Regions from separate parts of the Homo sapiens genome. Here region 2 is linked to region 1. Evidence: promoter capture Hi-C in human tissues and cell types (Jung and others, 2019). All regions are on one chromosome and are shown on one strand. Each heading gives the region's core, a stretch centred on a gene start or on the middle of the fragment in contact. The rest is flanking DNA. Distances are from core to core; before and after follow the strand shown. Region 1 holds the start of C11orf71 (chromosome 11 open reading frame 71). Region 2 overlaps NXPE2 (neurexophilin and PC-esterase domain family member 2).

The links. Contacts are between HindIII fragments. The study calls those that stand out against the background at their distance.
Region 2: a fragment that was not itself captured here is called in contact with the fragment with the promoter of C11orf71 in region 1 in 1 of the 25 tissues and cell types used here (mesendoderm cells).

What each region holds. Positions count from the first base shown.
Region 1 is chr11:114,398,779-114,404,043 of GRCh38, forward strand. It overlaps C11orf71 (chromosome 11 open reading frame 71), which reads right to left and starts at 1,733. Exons shown (of 1, transcript NM_001271562.2): 1 at 1-1,733. The coding sequence starts at 1,553. The coding sequence ends at 1,182. RBM7 (RNA binding motif protein 7) reads left to right here and starts at 1,888. Exons shown (of 5, transcript NM_001286045.2): 1 at 1,888-1,989; 2 at 2,920-3,082; 3 at 4,050-4,137. The coding sequence starts at 1,894. RefSeq lists enhancers at 975-1,517, 1,231-1,620, 1,518-2,060. The HindIII fragment of the contact is 14,324 bases long and covers 1-5,265 here.
Region 2 is chr11:114,703,297-114,708,561 of GRCh38, forward strand. NXPE2 (neurexophilin and PC-esterase domain family member 2) reads left to right here. Exons shown (of 6, transcript NM_182495.6): 4 at 695-756; 5 at 2,485-2,700; 6 at 3,099-3,773. The coding sequence ends at 3,634. Among named protein-coding and RNA genes, the nearest start is that of NXPE2, 27 kb to the left of the region's middle. The HindIII fragment of the contact is 6,972 bases long and covers 1-5,265 here.

The sequences.
Region 1 (5,265 bases), core at 483-2,982:
CGTAGTTATAACAATTCAATACTATGTGGTGTATGGAGATTTTGCTTTATTTGAAGATAATTATTTTAAGGAAGTCTAAACAGACAAGCGTCTGCTGGGAAAAAGCTAGTCTACCTGCTTATATAAAGAGCTGGCACTTACAAAACCCATTAACTTTCTCAAAATACCACCCTTTAAACATTGGGAAATGTATGGTTAAGAGAACAAAAATAACAGCAAATAAGGAGTGATCAGCCAGGTAAGAGAAGAACCAGGATAGTGCAGTATTATGATGAAAAAAAAAAAAAAAAAGTCACTGCAACCAGTACTTATGTTTATTACTGTACCTAATAAACAGCCCAGCGTGGTGATTCCTATTCACTTAGTAGCCTCCCCATCTAGAATATACTCCGTGATCTTTCTTGATGGCCAGACTGTGTAAAATTCATACAGTGTTTACTACAGGGATCCCCAAATATTGTTAGTTGAATGAACAAACACACATTTCAAGGAGGGCACTACAGTGAGTAGATGAACAGTTTTCTGATAGGAGATTGTACAAGTAATGTTTTCACCAGTGTATTTTAGGACAGCAGATTCAGATTAATGCGCTGGGACTGAATGCAAATAGTAAAATTACAAATATAAAGTAAAAATTTGGAACCTTTGCCAAAGAAAGGAATAATAAATTGATTTAATAATTTGAAAGAACTGTAAGGTTTAGGTTTTGTTCTTATTTTTAGTGCGACTGAGATTGGAGTCTGTTTGTAGACATATCTGAAAAAAGTGAAGGGGGAGATGGAAGATGGTAAATGCCAAGGAAAAGATGGAAGGATAAATCAGTGTAATAAAAAGGAGCACTTCTTTTTCGCCAACAGAAGTAAAGGTAAAGGTTAAGTGTCTGAGTTAACGAATGGATTGTTGACCTCTGGGGAGGGTGCTCCCATCAGCTCAGCTTTGTGACGACCTAAGAATATCCCTTCCACACCTTTCCTGATCCAATCGTTCTGGCTGCATAAAACCACCTAAATCAATCAACTGTTACACTTCCCTTAGTGCTAGGACATATTCATATAACTCCCACGTATTAAATGAAAATACATCCATCTAAAAATAAAACAACACGATTGCTGCTACACCAAGAAAGGATTTTAAAAAGGCCTGTTCACAAGCTAAGTGAGGGCCAGAGGAAAGGTGTTCGTTTAAACTGAAATTCGAGCTGCGATAACACCTCCTAATGCAATCAAACGCTGTTGCAGCACACTTCTTAGGAGATCGGGTTCAACGGCAGGGATTGGGTAAGGTGAGAATCTGGCTTGGCGGCTCCGGCCCCGGCCATCTGGTTCCCTTGGGCTCCGGCCGCCACCATCCACTCGACGGCTCTCGGCCCGAACGCTTGGTCGCACCGCCTGCCGAGGTCCTAGATGAATCGCTTCAGGCCTGGAAACGAGGAAGCCGTCTCCGGAGACCATCGCCAACGCTGACGCCCGCGGTCTGAGGTCGCCATGGGAAGAGCGGTAGGCCACCCTGCTCCTCTGATCACCGGAGGACAGGGACACATTGTTCAGGGCCATATTCAAACACTGCCCGCAGTACTTGCGTTACGTCCCTTTGTGAAGGCAGGCCCTTCGCGGCTCCCCAGATCAGTCCAGCCTGTGTCGGACCCGATGACTAAGCACACAGGAACCCATAACTGAGCCTGCGGAAGAGCCAGAAGCCGCCTTGCCTTTAACGAGGGGTATCCTGGCGAGCATGCGCAGACCGTCCGCGCACGTCGTCGCCCGCTGAGAGCAAGCGCAACGGGCGTTTTCGTTTGTGACGCCAGGGAGCGTGAGGACGTGGGGCTTCCGTGAATGCGCAGTGGGTGCGTCGGCCACGACCTTTTGGCCAGGTTAGGGAGGGGGCGACGCTGAGATGGGGGCGGCGGCGGCGGAAGCGGATCGCACTCTCTTTGTGGGCAACCTTGAAACGAAAGTGACCGAGGAGCTCCTTTTCGAGCTTTTCCACCAGGTAAGCGGCTGGGTTCGGCCCTTTGCCTTTCGTTTTCCGTCTCGCCTAGGGCCTGGCCAGCGGCCACCCCGTTTTCTTTTCGTAGCCGTCAGGGGACCCGACGGGTGGCTGTTTGGGGGTGAAAGGCGGGTCTGGGTTGCGAAACGCTCGCTGGGTGTCGCTTTCCTGGAAGATCTTGGTTCGTTTAGGCCGAAAGTGACGACTAAAGGTGGTGGAGGGATCCTCGATCAGGTTTCCCGTGGTAGAGATCCAGGGGTCCTTGGGAACACAGTGTGTGTGTAGGGTCTTCGTTGAGCAGTGCTTTTTCTTATCCTTCCTGTTGTCATCTTCCCCTTAGGATAATTTGTCTTTGGTTTATCTGACTGGGAACTTAATATTTTAATTTATTTGTGTCTGTTTTCCCCTAAAGTTTGCTTATCAAATTGCAGCATTATTAAAATATGTAAAATAAAATGGTTAAGTACTCCGTAGAAAAACAGCATTTTAGTGTTGCTGTATTAAAAAGTGTGAAAAATTCTGAGTATCCTATTCCCCCCATCCCTATCCCCTAATAACTGGTATTGTTTGATTAATCAATACAAAAGTCCGTTTTTAGTTAAAGAAAATCATTCTCTTGTTCTTGATAAATGTTCATTTTCATGGAGTGGCAAAATAATGGCGATTGGTCACTATGTTAAGCCATACAGTGCTGTGAATTGCAAAAGTGATTGTGTTTCCAGTTCCTTATGGGCCCCCTTCCCCAAATAAATCTAATGTTCAGTCATAACTAGGATGTTTACTGTAGCCAAAATGGAAATCCGTGCATCATTTTCAAAAGAAGTTTCTGATTACGTTTCTGTTGTTTTTAAACTTTGTCATATCTTATTTGTAAAATTTGAGTATTTTCCCTTAGTTGCTTTATTTAAATTCTAAACACCTTTTTGTTTGTAGGCTGGGCCAGTAATAAAGGTGAAAATTCCAAAAGATAAGGATGGTAAACCAAAGCAGTTTGCGTTTGTGAATTTCAAACATGAAGTGTCTGTTCCTTATGCAATGAATCTACTTAATGGAATCAAACTTTATGGAAGGCCTATCAAAATTCAATTTAGATCAGGTAACTGCCCAATGAGGTTCGGGGGGCATTGTTTCCTGCTGTTTTTAAATTTATTATTCAGTTTTAAAGAACCTCTTATTTGTAGATGAAACTTCTTTCTTAAGCATTGTGAATAGTAAACTTTATATAGCAAACTTTATATATCCCTGAAAACGGGTAACATTGACACATGGATTTTGAAATTAGAATTTCAAAACTGAGCTTAAAGTTTCATTTTGGGTTAGTGAAAAAACATAAACTGTATCACTAAGAGAGCTGGGCTTGGGTACTCTGAAAAGAGCTAGGTTTATTTTCTGAAAATACTTCTCCTGGCTGCTTTGTAATTACTTTTATATATTTTGGTTCTTGATCATGTGAGGATGAAACTGTCCATGTATCCAGTGTTACAATTTAGGGTGGAGATCAGAAAATTATGGTCAGATTGGATATTTATGGAGTGCTTTGTTTTGCTTATCTGATATTATACACTTATAATTTTCACCCCGATGAAGCCGTAAAGCGGTCTACAGCAGCTTGAGATTCTTTTTTTTTTTTTTTTTTTTTTTTTTTTTTTTTTTTTTTGAGATGGAGTCTTGCCCTGTTGCCTAGGCTGGAGTGCAGTGGTGCAATTTCAGCTCACTGCAACCTCTGCCTCCCAGGTTCAAGTGATTCTCCTGCCTTAGCCTCCTGAGTAGCTGGGATTACAGGTGCACGCCACCACGCCTGGCTAATTCTTTGTATTTTTAGTAGAGGTGGGGTTTCACCATGTTGGTCAGGCTGGTCTCGAACTCCTGGCCTCGAGAGATGTGCCCACGTCAGCCTCCCAAAGTGCTGGGATTACAGGCGTCAGCCACCGCGCCCGGCCAGTAGTTTGAGATTTTTCTCTTTTAGATTGTGTTTACCTTTTTGGAGTGATTTCAAGTGGGGAAGACAAAATTTCAAATTAGATTTTCTATCAAGAATAATTTTTCAAATTGTTTCATTTTAGGAAGTAGTCATGCCCCACAAGATGTCAGTTTGTCATATCCCCAACATCATGTTGGAAATTCAAGCCCTACCTCCACATCTCCTAGCAGGTAATATTTCTCACTTATTGTTAAGATCATTTATCAGGAATTCTTATAGGGAATAGCCTCAAAACACATGAGTAAATAGTCTCCTTCATTATTCTCTTATCTCTTCATTCTGCCGTTATTACTTGCCTTTTGGGGTTGTTGTTATGTATCTATTCTAAGGGGTATAGAATGTGTCTATTCTATAGACAAACACATTGTATATAGTCCCCTTAGAATAGATACGTATATAACTATTTGTTGATTTGTAGCGACATAACCATACCCACATATGTGTACAGTACATGTATACACTTGAAACAAAATTTCTCAAAACATTATTTACCCTCACTACTTGGATTACTATTTCATTTAAAACATTTTAAAATTTATTTTACAGTCATTAATTGGTTGTTACTTACAGTTGAAAAATACCAGTTAGTCAACAGTCTATTGGACTAAGAATTCCTAGAATTGGATTCTAGGTCTGCATCTATCAATTGTGTAATCTTGAGCTAGTCTCCTTTCTTTAGTCCCGTCTTCCCATGTGTAAGGAAAATAAGTTGAATTAAATGATTTGTAAAATCTCTTCAGGTACTGAGTATTAGAAAATATCATATTTACTTAAATGATTTTATTTGCTTTGGGGAGGTTCATATTTTACCAGGGACAATTTTTCCCGGTATATCCATAAAGCTATTTAACAGTCATTTAAGAAAGATTTAATAAATACCTGCCATATGTCAGGTTCTTCACCATATCTTTTACATATATGATTTCATTTATTCCTCACAGCAGTTTTATGAGGGTAGGGATTATTTTTATCTCTACCTCTTATATGAAGGGAAATGAAAAATGGAGGTTAACTTGCTCAGGTTCAGTGGGCTGGGATTCAAACCCAGGCAGTGTAGTGTGATTGAGCCCAGCCACTATGATGTATTATCTAGAGGAGCTTAAAGTCTAAATGAAGACACATATTATATATATTTTTGTGAATACCTGTTCAATTACTGTAATAAGTTCTCTAAAGAAAGAGTACAAAGGGCTTTGAGAAAATTTTAAGAGAAGGAGATGATATAGATGAATGTGGAACTGAAAGAAGCCAGTGTACCTAGATCATAATGAATGAAAATGGAGAGCAGTAGGGGATTT
Region 2 (5,265 bases), core at 1,733-4,232, 310 kb after region 1:
GGTTTGTATTTAGGTGGGATAAACCAAAAGGGCAGAAAGATAGTATTATAATAACTTAGGACAGGGTTCTCAAAGTAATGTCCGTAGACCATTGGCTTTGGGTTAGCCCAAGAGCTTGTTATTATAGAAATCCAAATTCTTGAGAATTTACCCCATAACTGTTGAATCAGAAATTCTGGGTGTGAGGCTCAGCAATTGGAGTTGTAATAAAGTACTGCAGGTAATTCTGATGCACGCTCAAGTTTGAGAAACACTAGCCTTGGAAAGGGTTGATGAGGGCCTGAATTACTACAGGTGGAAATGTGGAGAGGGTAGTTTGTGGTAGAGAGCCATTTAGAAGGTAAAATTAAAATAAGCATAGATAGATAGATAGATAGATAGATAGATAGATAGATAGATAGATGATAGATAGATAGATAGACAGACAGACAGATAGATAGATAGATGTTAGATAGATTTGATGGATTGCGTATGGAGGGTGAATGACTTTCTCTGGATCTCTAGATTCCCTGCCATTAGGAGAGGAACAGCTTTCCAGAATCCTGACCCATTAACTTCCCCAGGATATCTTAAATATATCAAAATAAGGGGGGAAAGGCATTTGGAGAAGAGAGGTTTAATCCATCTAAACCAGTGATTCCTACTTTATTATCTGGGCAGATATTAAGCTAATTTATTTTCCCATTTCTTGCAGGTCCAACATAGGAGTTGAAATGATGAAGAACTTTACCCCCATTGAGGTCATACCATGCAACAGTAAGTCTGGAGTGTTGTTGTCTGCCATGATCACAATTTATCCACGGAAAGGACATGCTTACTTAGAGATATTTATTCCACATTAACGATTTGATCTCTCATTTCCTGGGACAAATTACATCAACCACCTTGGGTTTTAGAGAAGGGATTTTATTCTTGGAAATTATTTTCATATCGATTTAAACCAATTTTCATCCCAAGTCAGATATAAAAGGCTAGGGAAACCATTAACTTCAGTGGCACTGCCTCAAAATGTACAGGCTATTTGTATTTAAATTTAGATTTATTCCTCCAGAGCCAATGATCAGGTGCTGGTGCTATGTGAAAAATGTCTCAGATGAGCTGCACAGATTCAGAGTTAGGACATTTCTTTGGTGGTTTCTAATTTCTCATTTAGCCAAGCCATCTTACTTGAAGTTCTATGAACTAGAATTTCTGTGAATTTTTTCTCAGTTTAATCATATGAACTTTAGTGGTCAACACAAAACCATTTCACTCATAGAAGTGATGATTCTGCTACACGGGAAATGAAGTGAATTTCAAAATTAAAGTAAAGCAAAGGACTTCCATTATAACAATCAACGGGGTGTACCATTACTCATCACCCCTTTTTCATGCATTTAGCAAGTGTTTACTGAGGTCCTACTGTACAAAGAAATTTGCTAAACCCTGTGGAGAACATAAACACAAATAAATCATGAACCCAGATGTAAAGTTCACAATCTATGAAGAAGACAGATCCCTTCTCTGCTAGGGCAACTATCATTCACACCCAACTTTTACACTGAAGAAAGTTCTTAGATTCTTGAGGCAATTTGAATGTTTGTAACACCTCTTTTATTTCCCTCTTGCCTGGACAGTAATTTCTAGTAAAGTCAGGCAGTTTCTTGGAAGATAGTACCAGACTGTAATTTTTGGAGCCACTTACAAATCTGATGTTATTCAATACGAACAAATGTAAGTTCCTCAATGTGTACCCCATATCCCAACAATGCAGGTAGATGACAAAGAAGATGTGCATTTTAAGTGGTGAATATAGAAGTGGCCTCAGAAACTTACCTGGGGGAAAACTCAATAGGAGTCAGTAAATACAGTTTAGGCTATTTTAATAGAGGAGTGTTCAGAACAGGGAGGTCATGATCCTACTTTTTTCTGTGTCAGATCACACTGAGAATATTACATTCAGTTCTAGACATGACAATTAAGATTTAAGGATTTTAAAAAAAGTATTAGCCAGAGAAGATGATTCTGGGACACACAAAATAAACAATGTGACACACTCATTTCATAAACACATTCAAGCTTCTTTTCCTGGATTAGTAGTTTGAGGAAGATGAGATTTACAATTCAGCGAGGCCAATGTCATTGGTGTAATATTTGGCAGGGCCACTGTGCCCTGCTATTTCACGGCCACACATTTCCTCCTGACTCTGGCTGGCTGTTCCACAGCAGCGTGGCTCTGGGGACAAGGTGGAGCCCAGGGACACATTGCAAATGCACAAGAGTCAACAGATCCCCACTCCAAGAAAAACTATTCAAGAAAAGCTATTTAATTCACCCTTTTAACATGATCTTATTAAATAAATATTTGTGGAAGAGAGGAAGGCAAAATAGAGCTGAAGAGAAAGGGGGAGGAAAAAGAGGAAAAGGAAGGCAAAAATGAGAAACATTTTTCCAAAATAATTTGTGGTAATAAAAATTACTTAATCTGGAAATTTGTATTGCCAGAGAGCGAGAACATAAAAAAGAACTGCCAGATTGGAATGAAGACTCCTTTCCCCAGTGGTTATACTTTGAAAAAAATGTGGATTACAGCATTTTGTAAACAGATCAAGTTCAATGAAACAAAAAATATAAATGACTGCTTGGAAAGAAAACTTATTTATCTCATGGGAGATTCAACACTGCATCAGTGGATTTACTACTTACAAAAAGCTGTGAAAAGTATGTATTTAATTTATATTTTGAAATTCTATTTGACTTTTGAGGGTTTTGAAATAATAATTAGAATTATTTGCTTTTCTTTTCTAATATTTATTTTATTTTATTTTATTTTATTTTATTTTAAATTTGCCTAACTTTTGGCTTTGGGCTTTTAATAAAAAGTTAAATTTTATCTTTTCATTCACAAATGTTAATATTTTTCTTCCTCTTCATGTATTCTCATAACAAGTTCAATATTTTGTTAAGATTGTAATGCACCTGGTAAAATTATCCACCTTACATAGGCAATAGTGCTTAGTTAGAAGTGATCTTGGTTAGAATTTTATACATGTTGTGTGCAGTTTAAAGTTATATCATTTTCCTTTTGTTAAAATATTTATTGATTTGTCTTTCATCAGCCCTAAAATATTTTGATCATCATGGAGCTGGGATCTTTAAAACACATGTTCTTCTGGATGTTGAAAGACATATTTTGATTCAGTGGAAAAAACATGGTCATCCATTTGTTACCAAAAAATTATTCTCAGTGAAAGATGAAAACTATATCCCACGGGAAATTGACCAGGTAGCAGGAGACAAAAACACAGCCATTGTCATTACCCTCGGCCAACACTTCAGACCCTTTCCCATCAACATTTTCATCCGTAGGGCCATCAATATTCAAAAGGCCATTGAACGTCTATTCTTGCGAAGCCCGGAGACCAAGGTGATACTTAAAACTGAAAACACCAGAGAGATAGAACAAAATGCAGAGATGTTCAGTGACTTTCATGGCTATATTCAGAATCTTATCATAAGAGATATTTTTGTGGATCTTAATGTGGGTATTATTGATGCCTGGGACATGACGATTGCATATTGCACCAACAATGCCCATCCACCGGATTATGTGATTCAAAATCAGATTGGCATGTTCTTAAACTACATTTGTTAGAGGAAAAATACAAAAATAGCACTAGCCACTTTCTATAGATGATCTCACATATACAGCGAAGATAGTTTAATGCAATCCAAGTTTTGAGGAAACTAAATTTGAAAAAGTTCTATTAAAGTTAAATATATGTAACATAACATTTACCATTTAAGCCATTTTATTATTTTATTTTATTTTTGAGATAGAGTTTTGCTCCTGTTGCCCAGACTGGAGTGCAGTGATGTGATCTTGGGTTACTGCAACCTCCACCTCCAAGGTTCAAGTGATTCTCCTGCCTCAGCCTCCCAAGTAGCTGGGATTACAGGTGCCCACCACCATGCCAAGCTGATTTTTGTATTTTTTAGTAGAGATGGGGTTTCACTATCTGGTTGGCCAGGCTGGTCTCGAACTCCTGACCTTAGGTGATCTGCCCACCTCGGCCTCCCAAAGTGCTGGGATTACAGGCATGAACCACCATGCCCGGCATTATTTTATTTTATTTTTCGAGACAGTCTCACTCTGTCACCAAGACTGGAGTGCAGTGGCATGATCTCAGCTCATTGCAACCTCTGCCTCCCGGGTTCAAGCGATTCTCCTGACTCAGCCTCCCACGTAGCTGGGATCACCAGTGTGCAGCGCCACACCTGGCTATAAACCATTTTTAAGCGTACAATTCAGTGATATTAAGTAATTTACAATGTTGTGAAACCCTCATCATGATCCATCTCTGGCACATTTTTAACATTCCAAAAAGAAACTTGGTACCTATTAAACAATAACTCCCCATTCGCTCCTGTCCTTGGCCCATGGCAACCGCCATTGTATTTTCTGTCCTTCTGAATTTGACTATTTTAGGTAGCTCATATAAGTGGGAACATGCAGCATTTGTCCTTTTCTGTCTGGCGTATTTCACTTAGCATATGTCTTTAAGGTTCATCCATATTGTAGCATTTGTCAGAATTTTCCTTCATTTTTAAGACTGAATAATATTCCGTTGTAAGTATGTACTACATTTTGTTTATCCATTCATTTGTTGATCGACATTTGGGTTGTTTCCCCTTTTGGCTACTGTAAATAGTGCTTCTAGGAAGAGAAAACCAAATTTAAAGGCATGTCTCCAGTGCTGAGCATGATGATTGAATAGCAAATCATCATCACCCATAATTTGAAGACATGTGCAGCCCAGAAATGCATAGATTAAATGATTCAAGTTTAGAGAAAATGTGATGTATACAGGAAAACTTAGTGGGATCATAATAGCAGTCTTCTTGCTTAGGAAAATTATTTGGAACTTAGTAACCAGTTGTTCTCTAGATTCCAGTAAGAATCATGGATCACACTTCAAAACCCACAGGCTCATTGAGAGAAAACAACTTAGTATTATGTTAACGTACAGACCCCAAAACCTTGATTCTTGGATATCCTAAAATATGATTTGGGATCCCCTCCAGAGGGCCTCAAATGACAAATTTTGTCTCTAAATCTTCCTCTCATTAGAAAGATATACACCCTTTCTATTAATATACTCTAGGTCTCAAGAGTAGGAATATTGTTATTAAGGATACTTCCCCTCTTAGGACTGTGTTTCTTAGTTAGAGGAAGTGAAGTTATAATGCTGTAACATCAGTACAAAGTTTGGGTCGTCAGGAGGT